2 separate regions of the Homo sapiens genome follow, and region 1 is linked to region 2. Evidence: promoter capture Hi-C in 16 types of primary human blood cells and fetal thymus (Javierre and others, 2016). All regions are on one chromosome and are shown on one strand. Each heading gives the region's core, a stretch centred on a gene start or on the middle of the fragment in contact. The rest is flanking DNA. Distances are from core to core; before and after follow the strand shown.

Region 1 (7,184 bases), core at 3,912-6,411, 690 kb before region 2:
TCCAGGTGCCATCAGTCACAGCTTCCCTTGGCTAGGAAAAGGAATTCCCTGACCTCTTGTGCTTCCCAGGTGAGGTGATGCCTTGCCCCACTTGAGCTCACACTCGGTGGGCTGCATCCACTGTCCTGTACCCACTGTCTGACAAGCCCCAGTGAGATGAACCCAGTACCTCAGTTGGAAATGCAGAAATCACCCGTCTTTTGTGTTGCTCATGTTGGGAGATGTAGACTGGAGCTGTTCCTATTCGGCCATCTTGGAACCTGCCCCCTACTTCCTCATATTTTAAATGGAAAAGGACATAAAGTCCTAGAAGATAAATTACAATTTTTGCCAAAACATCGTCCATTATTTAGGACCAGACCCATCTATGGAGGGAAAAATGCAATCTCCTGATAGACTAAAGACCATCAAACTTATTCTAGACCCCTTGCTGAATGACATTTGAGAGAATTTCTAAGTTAAACTTGATATTGCAGAAGAGTGCCAAATTTTTTCTTAGATTTTCACACTTAATTATGAACTAAGTCCTCAGTAACAGGTAGGAAATAGGTAATATAAATTTGAATTCAGCAACCTTCTTAAGGTGATTGGCCAAATTCTTGCCACTTGAAACAGACTAATAAAGATAAAAATGTGTGATCCAGCTCATGTTCTATAGAGCTTATAAACACTTACCTTCTCACGTTCTATAGAGCTCCTCTGGGAATGCAAATATGAAAAGGCCTTCTAAAATTCGAAGATGGTTCTTCAGCAGCCTCCTTTCTTAGGCATCCCTAACTACAAAAATCCCTTTGGTCTACTTGTGCATGAACAATCTGGACGAGCACTGAGATTTTAACTCAACTTTAAAGGAGTCATCACAAACTCACCAGTTACTATAGCCTCACACTTGGTCCTATTACAAGAGCTTAAGCCCTTGTATATCTTAGGACAATAGCTGCTGCAACCAAACTCATTCATGCCTCTGAGGAACTAGTTTTTAGCTCCTTGCTTGACCCCACAGTTTCTCACCCAGCACAGAATTACTACTGATTGAGCACACATTATGTTTCCCAGCCATCTGATTAACTACTTAAGAGATTCTGTCACTTTCTTCCTTTCCTATTACTATTTACCACTAAAACACTCTCAGTCCTGCCATTCTCCTGCCCCTAAAGGAAGCAAGGGAAAACTTATCATTCTCTAACCTCAATTAGGGAGCTCTCTTTATTTTACTGATGTGTAGAAGAGACTCCCATCAAGAACTTGGTCTAAATATTATTTGTTGATGGACCATACTTAAATCAGAAGGTAGTAGTTATCAAACAGGATATCCTATCACTAATTTAAGCTCTTCTTTAGAATATAGTTCTCTACTTCAGGTAAAATAAACCTGGATGGCAGAACTTATTGTATTTACTAGAGCATGTAAACTGGCCAAAGACCAGAATGTAAATATATGTACAATAACATGTATGCTTTTGGAGTAATACTTGACTTTTAAGATGCTTTGGAAGCAAAAGGTTTCTCATCTTCTCTGACATCCTCATTAAAAATAGACAAGTTAAGGAACTTTTAGATACTACTTCTACTTCCTAGTGAGGTAGCTATTATATAGATTGAGGCCCATAGAAAAAGAGCTGGATTTCATCCAGCTTCCTCTCTCCATGGAGTTTATGTTTTAGTTATTATATGTCTATTTTCAGTATGTGTTGATGTTGAAGTATTTCCTTGCCAAAAAGCTACAGAACTTATAGTTACTACAAAGCTGCTTGATTTTTTGTTTCCAATCTGGGGTATTCCAATTTTTATATATTAAGTAACTGAGACGCACACTTTACAAGAACCATTATAAAAGAACACTGTAAGGCATTATCAAAGCTGAAAACTACACTGCTTTTTTCCATCCAAATCTTTTGGAAAGGTAGAAAGAACCAATGGCACCCTTAAATTAAAAGTAGCATACTTATAAAACCTTTTAATAATCCTTTTTCTTTCTTGACCAAAGGTATTTCTACTAGCCATTATGGCCGTATGATCCACTCCCTTGCAAACAATCAGTTATTCCCTTATTAACTGGTAACTAGAAGCATCATGAATTAATAGATTTCATCTTTAATACTAGATTCTGCCCTGTCACATGAAGACATGGCAAAATACTGCAAGGGACTCAAGTACTGTGTCCATTTCTACCACCAATATTTTAAGGCCATTCTCTCACACATCTAACTAAGCAAAGTTTTCATGACTTGCAATGAGGAGATTTCATCTGCCGGAAGAGACATAATAGAAAAACTGCACTCAAACCTCATTGGAAGGTACTTTAACAACAAATGCAGGAGTGGAACTCCTGGAAATTAATCCTTGGATTTCTGTTTTACAATGAAAAAAAACAATACAGAATTCCATACAATTGGAAGGCCATTATATGTTAATATGGACCCTCAAACAAGATTTTCAGAGATTCTCTAGAAGCAGGTGATCTTTGGAAGTAGTCTTCTGACCTGAGACCATGAGAACAATCTTATGACCTCAGATAATGGACAGCTTCCCCTCCAGACCAAGACCCCTGTATAATTCCTGTTTTGTTTTTCATCTGCTTGCTTATAAACACTTTTCTTCTCATGTTCTATAGATCCCTGATTGTTGTCCACCCATAATGGCTTCTTTTTTATTTTCATTCATCTTTATGATAACTATTAGGTTGGAACATTCTCATTCAAACTCATTCTTTGATTATTCCAAACCATAGCCCTGCCTTCAACTTTACCAACTTTTGGATATGCCATTAATCAATGGACCCCCATGATATCTTAGGGCAATTTCAGTCTCACCAAATGAAGCCATGAGGAACTACTGATTGCATTTCCATTTGCACCTACAAGGACAAATGTACTAAAATGAACCAACCTATAACTTTGCCAGTGTCCTTCTTTCCCCCAGAAAAGGAGTACATTGTTACAATCTATTGATTGGAACTTAGGTAATATAAATTTGAATTCAGCAACTTTCTTAAGGTAATTGGCCAAATTCTTGCCACTTGGAAGAGACTAGTAAAGATAAAAATGTGTGACACAGCTAAAATAAAGCATTGATTCTGACCTCATGCCATAAACAACTAAATTTTTTCCTAAGTGTCCATGTGCCACTATCATATACTTCTAGGACTTCCCGGTCATCTTTTCTTCTGCACTTTAGAAATAATATTCTAAGACCTGTCAGTATACAGAGATTCTAATTCTATAGATCACCAAGGCTGGAAATTCTAACTTAGTTGATAGCTCCATCGTAAGTCCTCCATTTGGGGGAATTACTTACTCATTGTTTATGGGAACAATGAAAGGAATGATCCCAGTGGTGAGACTCAAACAAGTAGAAAATATTGAAAGAAACTTAGAATTAACTCAGCAGAAGTTATTAATTAATGTACTCCTTCTGCCTTAGATAGAGTACAGATCAATGTCAACTTGTTGGCAGGAGTAATGATGGACAATGTCATTACTCTAAATTTCTTGTTGGCTAGTCAATGTGGTGTTTGTATCATTGTTAATAATTCTTATTTACTTAGATCTGTGAAGCAGGCATAGTCAAGTAGGCTACACTTCACCTTAAAGAAAAAGTGACTTGATGTTCTAAGATTCATCCTCTTGGGCTCTGGGATTCATTCTGTTTACCTGAGTTAGGCAATTGGGGTTCCTGGGTCTAGCTGTCTTAGTGGGACTATTACTTGTCTTTGTTTTGGTCAAAGTTGTTGTAAGCTTGTTCATTATATTCTATCCAGAGTCTTAAATGCTTTTGTGTAGCAGCTCTCTCATCAAATGATTGTCATGATGATACAGCAGTAAAAAGATCAAGAAGATCTTGTGATACGGTTGACTATGGAGACAAGCAGACAACCTTCCATCAGTGAAGATCTGCATTTCTGGTCTTCCTTGAATTGACCAACCTGTTGCAAGTGAGAGAATGACTGAAAGGGGGGACTGAGGGACGTTGTCTAGACAGTGACCAGATCATATATGGCAGTAGAACATTGACCAACAACCTTTCTGGCTATTGATCCTGGAAAGCAAATCATGACCTTCACATCAATTGACCCCAAACAGTCAGAACTTCGTCAATGACTGCCAGCTTTCCTATTTGTGGCTTTCACTTCTAATTCCGGACCAACCAGAGAAAACCAAATATGCTCCCTGTATTAGTCTGTTTTCATGCTGCTGATAAAGACATACCTAAGACTGGGTAATTTATATTAAAAAAAAAGAGGTTTAATGGACTCACAGTTCCACGTGGCTGGGGAGGCCTCACAATCATGGTGGAAGGAGAAAGGTGAAAGGCACATCTTACATGGCAGCAGGCAAGAAAGAACTTCTGTAGGGGAACTCCTCTTTATAAAACCATCAGATCTCGTGAGACTTATTCACTATCATGAGAACAGCACAGAAAAGACCTGCCCCCATGATTCAGTTACCTCCCACTGGGTCCCTCCCACAACACATGAGAATTATGAGAGCTACAATTCAAGATGAGATTTGGGTGGGGACACAGCCAAACCATATCACTCCCTAAAAAAAAAAATCACATAATATATCCCATTTTTATAGCCTGTCTCCAGCTTCCCCATGCCAACAACTTCTAATTAGAGCATACCTGAACACTCCCCCTTTTCTCTCTCTCTCTCTCTTTTTTTTTTTTAACTATAAAGCTTTCCTTGCTTCTTCTGCCTGACTTTGAGTCTCTGCCAAATGGAAGTGACGATGGCTGATTCCTTTGCTATAGTAAGCCTTGAATAAATAGCCTCTATTTTTCTCATTTTTGTGGTCTTTTTTTCTACAAGAAAAAAGTAAAATCCTCTTGAAATTGTATACAATGATTAAAAAGGCTTAAAACTCAGAAAGCCTCTACAACTATTCCACAGAAAAACTGAGTTATTGTTAATATTCAATGAATGATTTTGCTTCATGGTGATATGTTAACACTAAGGTCAGATTATTTCTTTTTAGCAGGGCTTTGTGAAAGAAGGGCCCTGGGGATCTGAAGGCAGAGATGTTTCTCTCTGAAATGTATCAAAACTAATAAAAGAAAATCTGGAAAGAGAGGGGTATATATATGATATACACTGCTCTGAACCCCACAGCTCTAGCTACAGACTGAATAATTTCTTGACATTTGTACAAAAAGCAAGCTGTACTGAGCTCATCCACAAGTGGTGTGCAATTCAGATTTGTTTCATCTGGTAATCTCCGAGATAAACTGTTGTGTTGAGTAAATAAGGGTTATGTCTTTGCCTGTGACACCAATGTCAAAATTTCACTTCTTATATCTTGTTTATTTATACGTTTTTAGGTAAAAAAAAATTTATTATAGTGATAAAAAGAAGACATTGTACAATAAAGGATGTCATTTTTCAAGAGTCATTATGACAAATTATTAACACTACAGTCACAGTGTGAGGTAAGTTTGCAACTCCTCTAAGGTTGCATAGCTAGTAAGTGGCAGAGCCTGGATTTGAACGATGTTTAGTCTGAGCTGTTAACCATGTCGCATAACATCGCCTCTACTGCCCAGTAGGGGGCATTCATTAGCTTGCCATTCACTTGCCAAGTACCCTTGTGACCTTAGGCAAATTATTAAATTGTCTTAATTTTATGTTTTGAAAGCTTTAAGTGTGTAGATTGGACTTGAGTAGCTTAGGTCAGGGGTCGGAAAACTTTTTCTATAAAAAACCCGGTAGTAAATATTTTAGGCTTTGCAGACTATGTGATCTCTGTAACAACTAAAGTGGTCATAGAAAATAGTAAACAAATGAGCACGTCTGTGTTCAATAAAACTTTGCTGACCAGGTGCAGTGGCTCATACCTGTAATCCCAGCACTTTAGGAAGCTGAGGCGGGCGGATCACAGGGTCAGGAGTTCGAGACCAGCCTAGCCGATATGGTGAAACCCTGTCTCTATTAAAATACAAAAATTAACTGGGTATGGTAGTGGGCGCCTGTAGTCCCAGCTACTCGGGAGGCTGAGGTAGGAGAATCACTTGAACCCGGGAGGCGGAGGTTGCAGCAGTGAGCTGAGATTGTGCCACTGCACTCCAGCCTGGGTGACAGAGCAAGACTCCATCTCAAAAACAAAACAAAACAAAACAAAACAAAAAACAAAAAAACTTTGCTTATACGAACAGATGGTGGGCGCATTTAGCTTGCTGGCTGTATTTGCCAACTCTTGGTTTACTTCTCTGTACGTAAGCCTCTCTCTTCTTTGATAAGCAGGGAACAATGGAAGGAAATTAACATTGAGCATGTACTATGAACTAAGCATTGTACTCAAGACTTTTATAGTTATTGCATTTAATCCTCACAATTTAATCTCTATGCTATAGCAAAGAAAGTGGAGTTTCAGGAAGCTGAAATAGATTGTCCACAATCACACAGCTGGTGGGAAGCACAACCTTCTGACTCCAAGTCTCTTTCTTCTCATCATAGCAGCTTCTCTTCTTTGCCGTCCGTATATATGCCTTTCCCAGCATCTCTGGCCATCCTTGCTTCTGACTTTATATTAAGAATGTTGAGAAAGAAATAACAATAACAGCAGTGAAACTTTATGGGTGGATATTATTCAGTCCTCACGAGAATATATATATATGGTTATATCTCCACGAGAATCTCATAAAGCATATTTTCCCCATTTCATAGAGAGGGAACATCAAAGTCACAAAATGGAAACTGGCAACTCTAGGAAAAGAACTCCCGTTTCCTAACTCCTGATTCCCTAACTAGGTCTTTATTTCTAGTCAACATTGTTTAATTAACACAGGAGAATATTTTCCTTTCTCTGAACCTCTCTAAGTACAGCTGCCAAGTCAATTCCAACCAACAGAAGTAGCTGAGACTGGATTAATGATTTTGGGGGGAATATCAGCTTCAATGCAACAAAATTCTGTTAAAGCAATATGGATTGGTGTCCAGGAAATATCAGAAACTCTTGTGCTTTGTCAACAACTTGGCTATTAGGCTGACAGCCACCTGGATTTCTCTTTAAGGAGTTCCCCACATGAAAAATGGCTCCTCAGAACATCTGACTCTTAGATTGACCAAAGTTCTGGTCAGGAAGAAACCTCTGTCTTTGCTGACAGTTTCCAAAATATAAATACAGAGGCTTGAGGATAGGAAATCTTTTCATTTTTTAAAGCTGTGTATTGAAAGAGAAAACCTG
Region 2 (6,815 bases), core at 2,359-4,858:
CTATGTTAGGTCTCTTTGGGTAAAGATTAATGACAGTCATCTCAAAATATTATAAACAAAAGGGATGTTTATTACTCGTGTGTTTGAGAGTTCTGGAATCTCTAATTTCAGGCATAGCTGGATCCAGGCTTTTTGCTTTCCTCTCCTTCCCCACACTGGCTCCATTTTCAGCTCTGCTTTTCTCTGTTGGCTGAGTTCTTCCTCCTCTCTGAAAAATTGCAGTATGTGTTGATACAGATATCAACACCTTATCCTCACAGTCTAGTAATCTTAACAGATATAAACTTTTTTCCTCCTACATGTGTGTACAAATGATCCTTGAACAACACAGGTTTTAACTGTGCAGGTGCACTTATAGGCAGATTTTCTTCCAGCTCTACTACCTCCAAGACAGCAAGATCAATACCTCCTCTTCCTCCTCCTCTTCAGCGTACTCCATGTGAAGATGTTGAGGATAAAGACCTTTATGATGATAACTTTCACTTAGTAAATACATTTTCTCTTCCTTATGATTTTCTTAATAAGATTTTCTTTTCTCTAGCTTACTTTATTATAAGAATACATTATATAATACATATAACATACAAAATATGTGTTAATTTATGATGTTATCAGTAAGGATTCCAGTCAACAGCAGACTATAAGCAGTTAAGTTTTGGGGGAGTCTAAAGTTACACGCAAATTTTCAGCTGCATGAGGAGTCATCACCCCTAACCTCTGTATTGTTCAAGGGTCAGGTGCATTGGTCATTGATAAGAACTCTGGCCTTCTTAAGACATAGAGTATAATCAAGCAGCACTTTGATTGAAAATGCCCACAAGGACTCCTTGAAATAGGAAAAGAGATTCCCAAAGAAAGCATTCATTTCACAGAAAGAAAGAATAGGCAAGCGTTTTAGGTAGACAAAACTCCCACCTGTACCATTTTCATTATAGTATTTTTTAGAGAGAAATTTTAATACTTAATTTTGGTTCTATTCTCCTTCATTCATTTGGTCAAAAAATTTTGTAGAGCACACTATAATCTAGACACTGTTCTGGATATTTAACAAACACAGAGAAGAAAAAGAAAAGAAGAGTCCTTCAATAGCATGACGTTAAATTTTCCCATGGATAATATAATAAATTACCACACACAAATGTATTGTCTTACATTTTTGAAGGTTAGAAATCCAAAATCAGTCTCACTGGGCTAAAGCCAAGGGGTCAGCAGAATAGATTCCTTCTGGGGGTCTTGAGTAGAATCAGTTTCCTTGCCTTTTCTAGCTTCCAGAGGCCGTCTGCATTCATTGGCTCATGATCCCTTCCCCAAATCCCTGTACCCTCTTGCCTCCATTGTCACATTTACTTCCTCTTCTGTCATCAAATCTCTCTCACCTCCCTCCTATAAAGACACTCGTGATTACATTTAGGGCTCATCTGAAAAATTTAGATAATCTTCTCCTCTCAAGTTCCTTCACCTAATCACATCCGTAAAGTTCTTTTTGCCATGGAAGGTAATATTCACAAGTTCTGGGGATTAAAAGGTGGACATCTTGAGGGAGGGGCATTATTCAGCCCTCTACAGCATAGCACGAGAAGCCCGGACAAACAAAGCAAATAAATACCACACTCTCAGACAAAGACACACATATTTCCTAAGAGAGAAACCACAAGTTATAGATAAGATGAAGAAGCCACTTTCAGCTCTGGAATCCAGTTTGGCTTCTTCCAAAATAAGAGCAAACATTTATATTGTTCGTTATGTGTCAGGCATTCTTCTAAGTTCCTTTCTTATATAACTCGCTTAAACTTCACAAAAAGTCATCCTCATTGTATAGAAGAGGAAACTAAAGCACAAAGATGTTAAGTGATTTGCCCAAGATTACACTGAACTAGCAGGGCAAGGATTTGAACTCAAAGTGTCTGATTCCCAAGTTCACATATCATTTGAGATCCAACTTAAAGAATGGATAGGCAGGCTGACACAGTGAGAAATGGAAGGGCATTATAGGCAGAGGAAACAAAGTGAACAAAGGCACTGAGGCAGAGATATGAAAGGGAGATTCAAGCCAGTGAGTAGACTGGGTTGGATGCAGCATAACAAGCCTAGGAGAAGTAGTGGGAGATCAAGCTAGAGATCTAGCTTGAAGTCAGATAGTGGAAGGTCTTGAAACCACAGACACCTGCTGTGGCTGATGAGATCTTTCAGACATTTGAGTAGAGGAGGGGGCTTGTCAGAGTTGGGCCTTGGGAAGACTGATCTGGAAGCAACGTGAAGGCTAGGAGGGAGGAGTGAGAAGGGAGCTGTCCCCGCTTCTCTGCTCCCTTAACACTTTCTATATCATAGAATGTGGCTGTGTGTCTCACCCTCTAGAGAGTGAGCCCCTGGAGGGGAGCTGAGTGTGCTGTCCACCTCTGGCTGCATGTGCCAGTGGGTGATATATTCACCTGTAAAGCACAGTACAGCTAGAGGTTAGGAGACAGGGGAACAGATGCTGGAGCTGCTGCTGCCTATGTTGATGCAAATAACAATACCGTTTGGGAATCAATCTAAAGTGTCTTTGCCTGCATCAGCTGAAGTTTCTTTTAGCATAATAACAACTGTCTGGAAATGTAGGATATGCAGATCTATATTCTAATCTTAGCTCTGTACTTGCTTTTGCAGGATTTGGAGTAGTTTATCAATACCCCAACTTGTTTCTTTTCTCTTTAAAATAAAGTAAAACTATTTTGTTTATAACTATTAACTTGTGAGGTGAGAGTTATCCAGCTTGTCATAGGGATCTGGCATAGAGACAGTACTCAACGTTATTATTATCAATCTATAATATTCTGGTTTTTTTGTTTCTTTGTTTGTTTGATATGGAGTCTCGCTCTGTTGCCCAGGCTGGAGTGCAGTAGTACCATCCTGGCTCACTGCAAGGTCCACCTCCCAAGTTCAAGCAATTCTCCTGCCTCAGCCTCCTGAGTAGCTGGGATTACAGGCGCGCACCACCACGACCGGCTAATTTTTTGTATTTTTAGTAGAGACGGGGTTTCACCATGTTAGCCAGGATGGTCTCAATCTCCTGACCTCGTGATCTGCCCACCTCGGCCTAACAAAGTGCTGGGATTACAGGGGTGAACCACTGAGCCCGGCCGATATTCTTATTTAATTTAGTCACCAAATCGCAGTTAGGACAGTGTTATTATTTTGCCCCGTTTCACAGATGAGGAAACAATCTCAGGGAAAAGAAGGGATTTACTCAAGCCATACAGTGGAGACGTCTGGATTTGAACCTACTGTGTTGGAATCTCAACTATGTGCAAACTCACAAAGGGAAATGAAGCCTTCGGAGGAAGGGCGGGACAAGGGTGACCACACAGGTGAGCGAGATGGGCTTCTAGAAGGACGCCCGCATATCTCTGAGGAACAGAGAAGGCACAGATCAAAAACACCTAGGCTCTTCACCCGTTGGCAGCCAGAGCCTGGGTCCATTGCCTAGGCAGTGGAGAAAAACCTGGTCCCCGCCCAGAAACAGCCTTCAGCGTCCTTAGCGACCAGGGCGGAACAGGCGCCGCCCGCGATGCGGGCCCTGTGATTGGCCGGATTCCTGGGCTCGGTCCCCACGCCCCGTCCCGTCCCCGGGTCTGAGAGTGTCAGCTTCCTGGGGAGAAGCACGGACCGCGCACCTCTGAGCTGCCAGGGTGGGGACGCTGCCCTAGCGGTAAGCCCCCCGACTCTGTTCTCTCCGGGCAATCAGGGCCGACACGCAGCTGCTGGGCAGGGAGGGGATTTGAGGATCACGAGTTCCGGGTCTGGAAGATTCCAGACAGGTGCAAAGAGGCTGCAGGTCCCCGGGATGAGGGGCTGCCCTAGCACAGGTCTTTAGTATTGGACTTTTGGGAAGAACCCTGGCCTAGACATCAGACCCAAGTACTGGAAACAGTCCCGTCCTTCATTCCTCTGTGACCCTTGTCAAATAACACACCCTCTCTGGGCCTTAGTTTTCCAATCTGTGAAGGAGCCTTTGGAGTAGAATGATTTCTAAAGGCCTTTCAGCCTCTGGGTGGTTCTAAAAGGGAGTGTTCAGCTGTGGCCAGATTTACTGAACTTCTGATTTTCCCTTGGCATCACTCTGTTTAAACACCTTGTGCAGGAGTTCAATTTCAGATTCATTGTATTGTTGTAGAAAGAGATCAGTGATAACAACAAAAGTCTGTCTGTCTTGTGTACAGTCTCCCTTCAGATGCATTATCTCCTTGGATTCACCCTCAAGTCCCTGAGAACAGACCTAGAATTACCCTGATCTCATAAATGGGGAAACTAAACATCAGAACTGAATATGGATTCTTCATATGTCCCACTAATGCCCTTGTTTCTGCTCTGACCTCACTGGAATTCCATCCTATGTCTTGTAGTACAGGAAGGTAGAGTCACCTAATGATTCAGTAGATCTGCTGTACAGACCTCTTAGGTGAGATTCCCAAGTCGGCTAATTACTGGTGATGTGATGTGATGTGAGTAAGTCATATAGCTACATTTTGCTTGTTTCCTCAACAGTAAAACAAAAATGATAATAGTAGTTAAAAATATCTTTCTCATGCCTTTGTTAGGAGTGTTAAGTGAGGTAATATAGGTGAAACACTTTGTCCTGCTATTATTATTGCTTGTTGTTATTGGCAAGGATGATGCAGTTCCCTAATGGAAAATCAAGAGGAACAATTTACTTATTTTCACCCCTAGGGATCTGAAGGGATTTTGAAAGGAATCATGTCTTCAGCCTGGAAGACTCCCCGTGGATCAGATGCAATGCCTGAGATCATGGTGAAAATCATTGGAAGTAAACACTTTCAATACCTCGTGGAGAAGCCAAAGATGTAAGTCCATATTTGAAAAATATCTATGTTGCTTGGATGATAATGAAGTTTTATTGTTTTGTTTTCACCCAGAAATTTAAACTTAAAAAATGCCATCCATGGAAAACGAAGTCATTAAGATGCAACAGTAGAGGTAAAATCGTGTTGATAACTTCCATGTGCACTGTTTTCCTGATATTTTTCATCTTTATAATTCCCCATACTCCTTAATTACTTGGGCTGATTTTCCAAATAGATGGGAAATATGAGCATTGCGACATTTATAAATATTAATGGAGCACTGCTGCCTTTTCTCATCGGGCTTGTAATCTACCACATGTACTAATTTTGGGGAGAGTGGGGGAGGTTTAATAGTCAATTTGTTGTGAATTACAGGAGTAGGATTAATACAGAATCATAAATTGTAAGGTTTTCACTTACTCCTGTTTGTATTTGATACTCCTCTAAGCTTGGGCTTCTCAGATCATGGCTAAGATCTCTTTCTTCTATTCCAAACCCATCAGAGTCACATTTAAGAGATGACACTCCTGTATTTCTAATATTCACCAGATGTTTCAGCACAGAACAGTATGACTAGCTCTTTCTTACAGAGTTTCAGTGGCTCAAAAAAGGAGGGAAGGTACTAGATCTGTCTTTCATATAGTAGGCGTTCCATAAGTAATAGCTAGTCAAAAATTACTTTTCCTTCCTAAGATTATTTCCTTAGCTCTATCTTCTATTTCAGAAACTCATAGACTGAACAAATATACAAAGATATGGTATTGTTGAACATAGGTGCAAGAAGAAATTTTTGCTAAACCTAGCTGTCATCAGAATCACTGGGAGAGACCTCAAAAATACAGATTCAGGAACCAGCTCAAGGTCTGCTGAATCAAAATCTCTGAATGTAGGTCACCAAGACTGCTGTTATGAAGTACAGGCTTTAATAAGGCTTTAGAAAGGCACATTAGTTCTACTTCCCTACTATCAGTATTGTAAGGTCTAGAGGGATTCCAAAGTGACTGCTATAATCAGTTAGTAATGTCTGCCACTGCACAGGAACTGAGGTTTGCAGCACGTGATTCATACATTTGGGATCCCTACAGTGCTGAGAGGTGTGAAATTGAATCTTAGGTCTGATTCTTTCTTGCCTTTTTGACATTGGGAAAATGAATTAACATCTTTGGCCTTAGATTCTACATATATGAAGTGGGGATAAAACAACACCTATCTAGTAATAGGGTTATTGTGAGGATTAAATGAGAAAAAGTATGCAAAGCACCTTTCCAGTGTCTATTATAAATAACATGCTTAGTAAATAATCCTGCTATTATTATAGAAGTCTTTCTATAGATATAAAAAATGTAACAAAAAATCGAACCTCTTTCTCTGAAATGTTTGATGTCCCTTTTATATTCTATGCCTAGGACACAGTTTATGTCTGTTTTGTAGATGAGGAAACTAAGACACTGTGATATGGTAAGCGATTATTTTGAGATATGTCAAATCCCTGTCACTGTCAAGAAAAGTAAATAGAATTAGTTTGGACACCTGGCTCAGATCTCCTACCTGGAAAACTATATTATTACTATTCCATTCCTTATTTAGGTTATTTGTTTAGCCTTATTCTCTCCCAAACTCCTTGCTTTTTCCAAGGGTAGGGAGCTTAATATGTTTTTAAACAGAAAGCAAGGAGTAGTATTTAATTTTTAAAATAGTGAAAAGTTAGCTTTATCTTATAGGAAGGTGCCTTTCCCCATTTTGTTTTCTAACCTTCAGGAACCAAGAAATAAAAGAGTACATTAAATCAGCTAAATTAATTGTAAAATAAAATATGCAGTTCTATCTCTCCTATTATAGTACAACAATTGGTATTTTTTTAGGTAGTAAGATGGATATTTTGCTTGTTTGTTGTGTTTCCTATAGACTTCATGTTACTGTTGCTGGGATGACATAGGATAATTGATGTGCATTGCTAAAATATTCTTCTATGTT

What was found. Contacts are between HindIII fragments. The CHiCAGO score rates a contact against its expected background, and 5 or more counts as called.
Region 1: a contact is called between a fragment that was not itself captured here and the fragment with the promoter of C1orf87 in region 2, in 4 of 17 cell types (M2 macrophages, M1 macrophages, M0 macrophages and 1 more). The highest score is 8.6, in M2 macrophages.

Annotation. Positions count from the first base shown.
Region 1 is chr1:60,763,759-60,770,942 of GRCh38, reverse strand. All of the region lies in intron 1 of LOC101926964 (a long non-coding RNA gene), which reads left to right. Among named protein-coding and RNA genes, the nearest start is that of LINC01748, 140 kb to the right of the region's middle. The HindIII fragment of the contact is 955 bases long and covers 4,684-5,638 here.
Region 2 is chr1:60,070,563-60,077,377 of GRCh38, reverse strand. C1orf87 (chromosome 1 open reading frame 87) reads left to right here and starts at 3,608. Exons shown (of 12, transcript NM_152377.3): 1 at 3,608-3,688; 2 at 4,708-4,841. The coding sequence starts at 4,735. The HindIII fragment of the contact is 5,384 bases long and covers 1-5,291 here.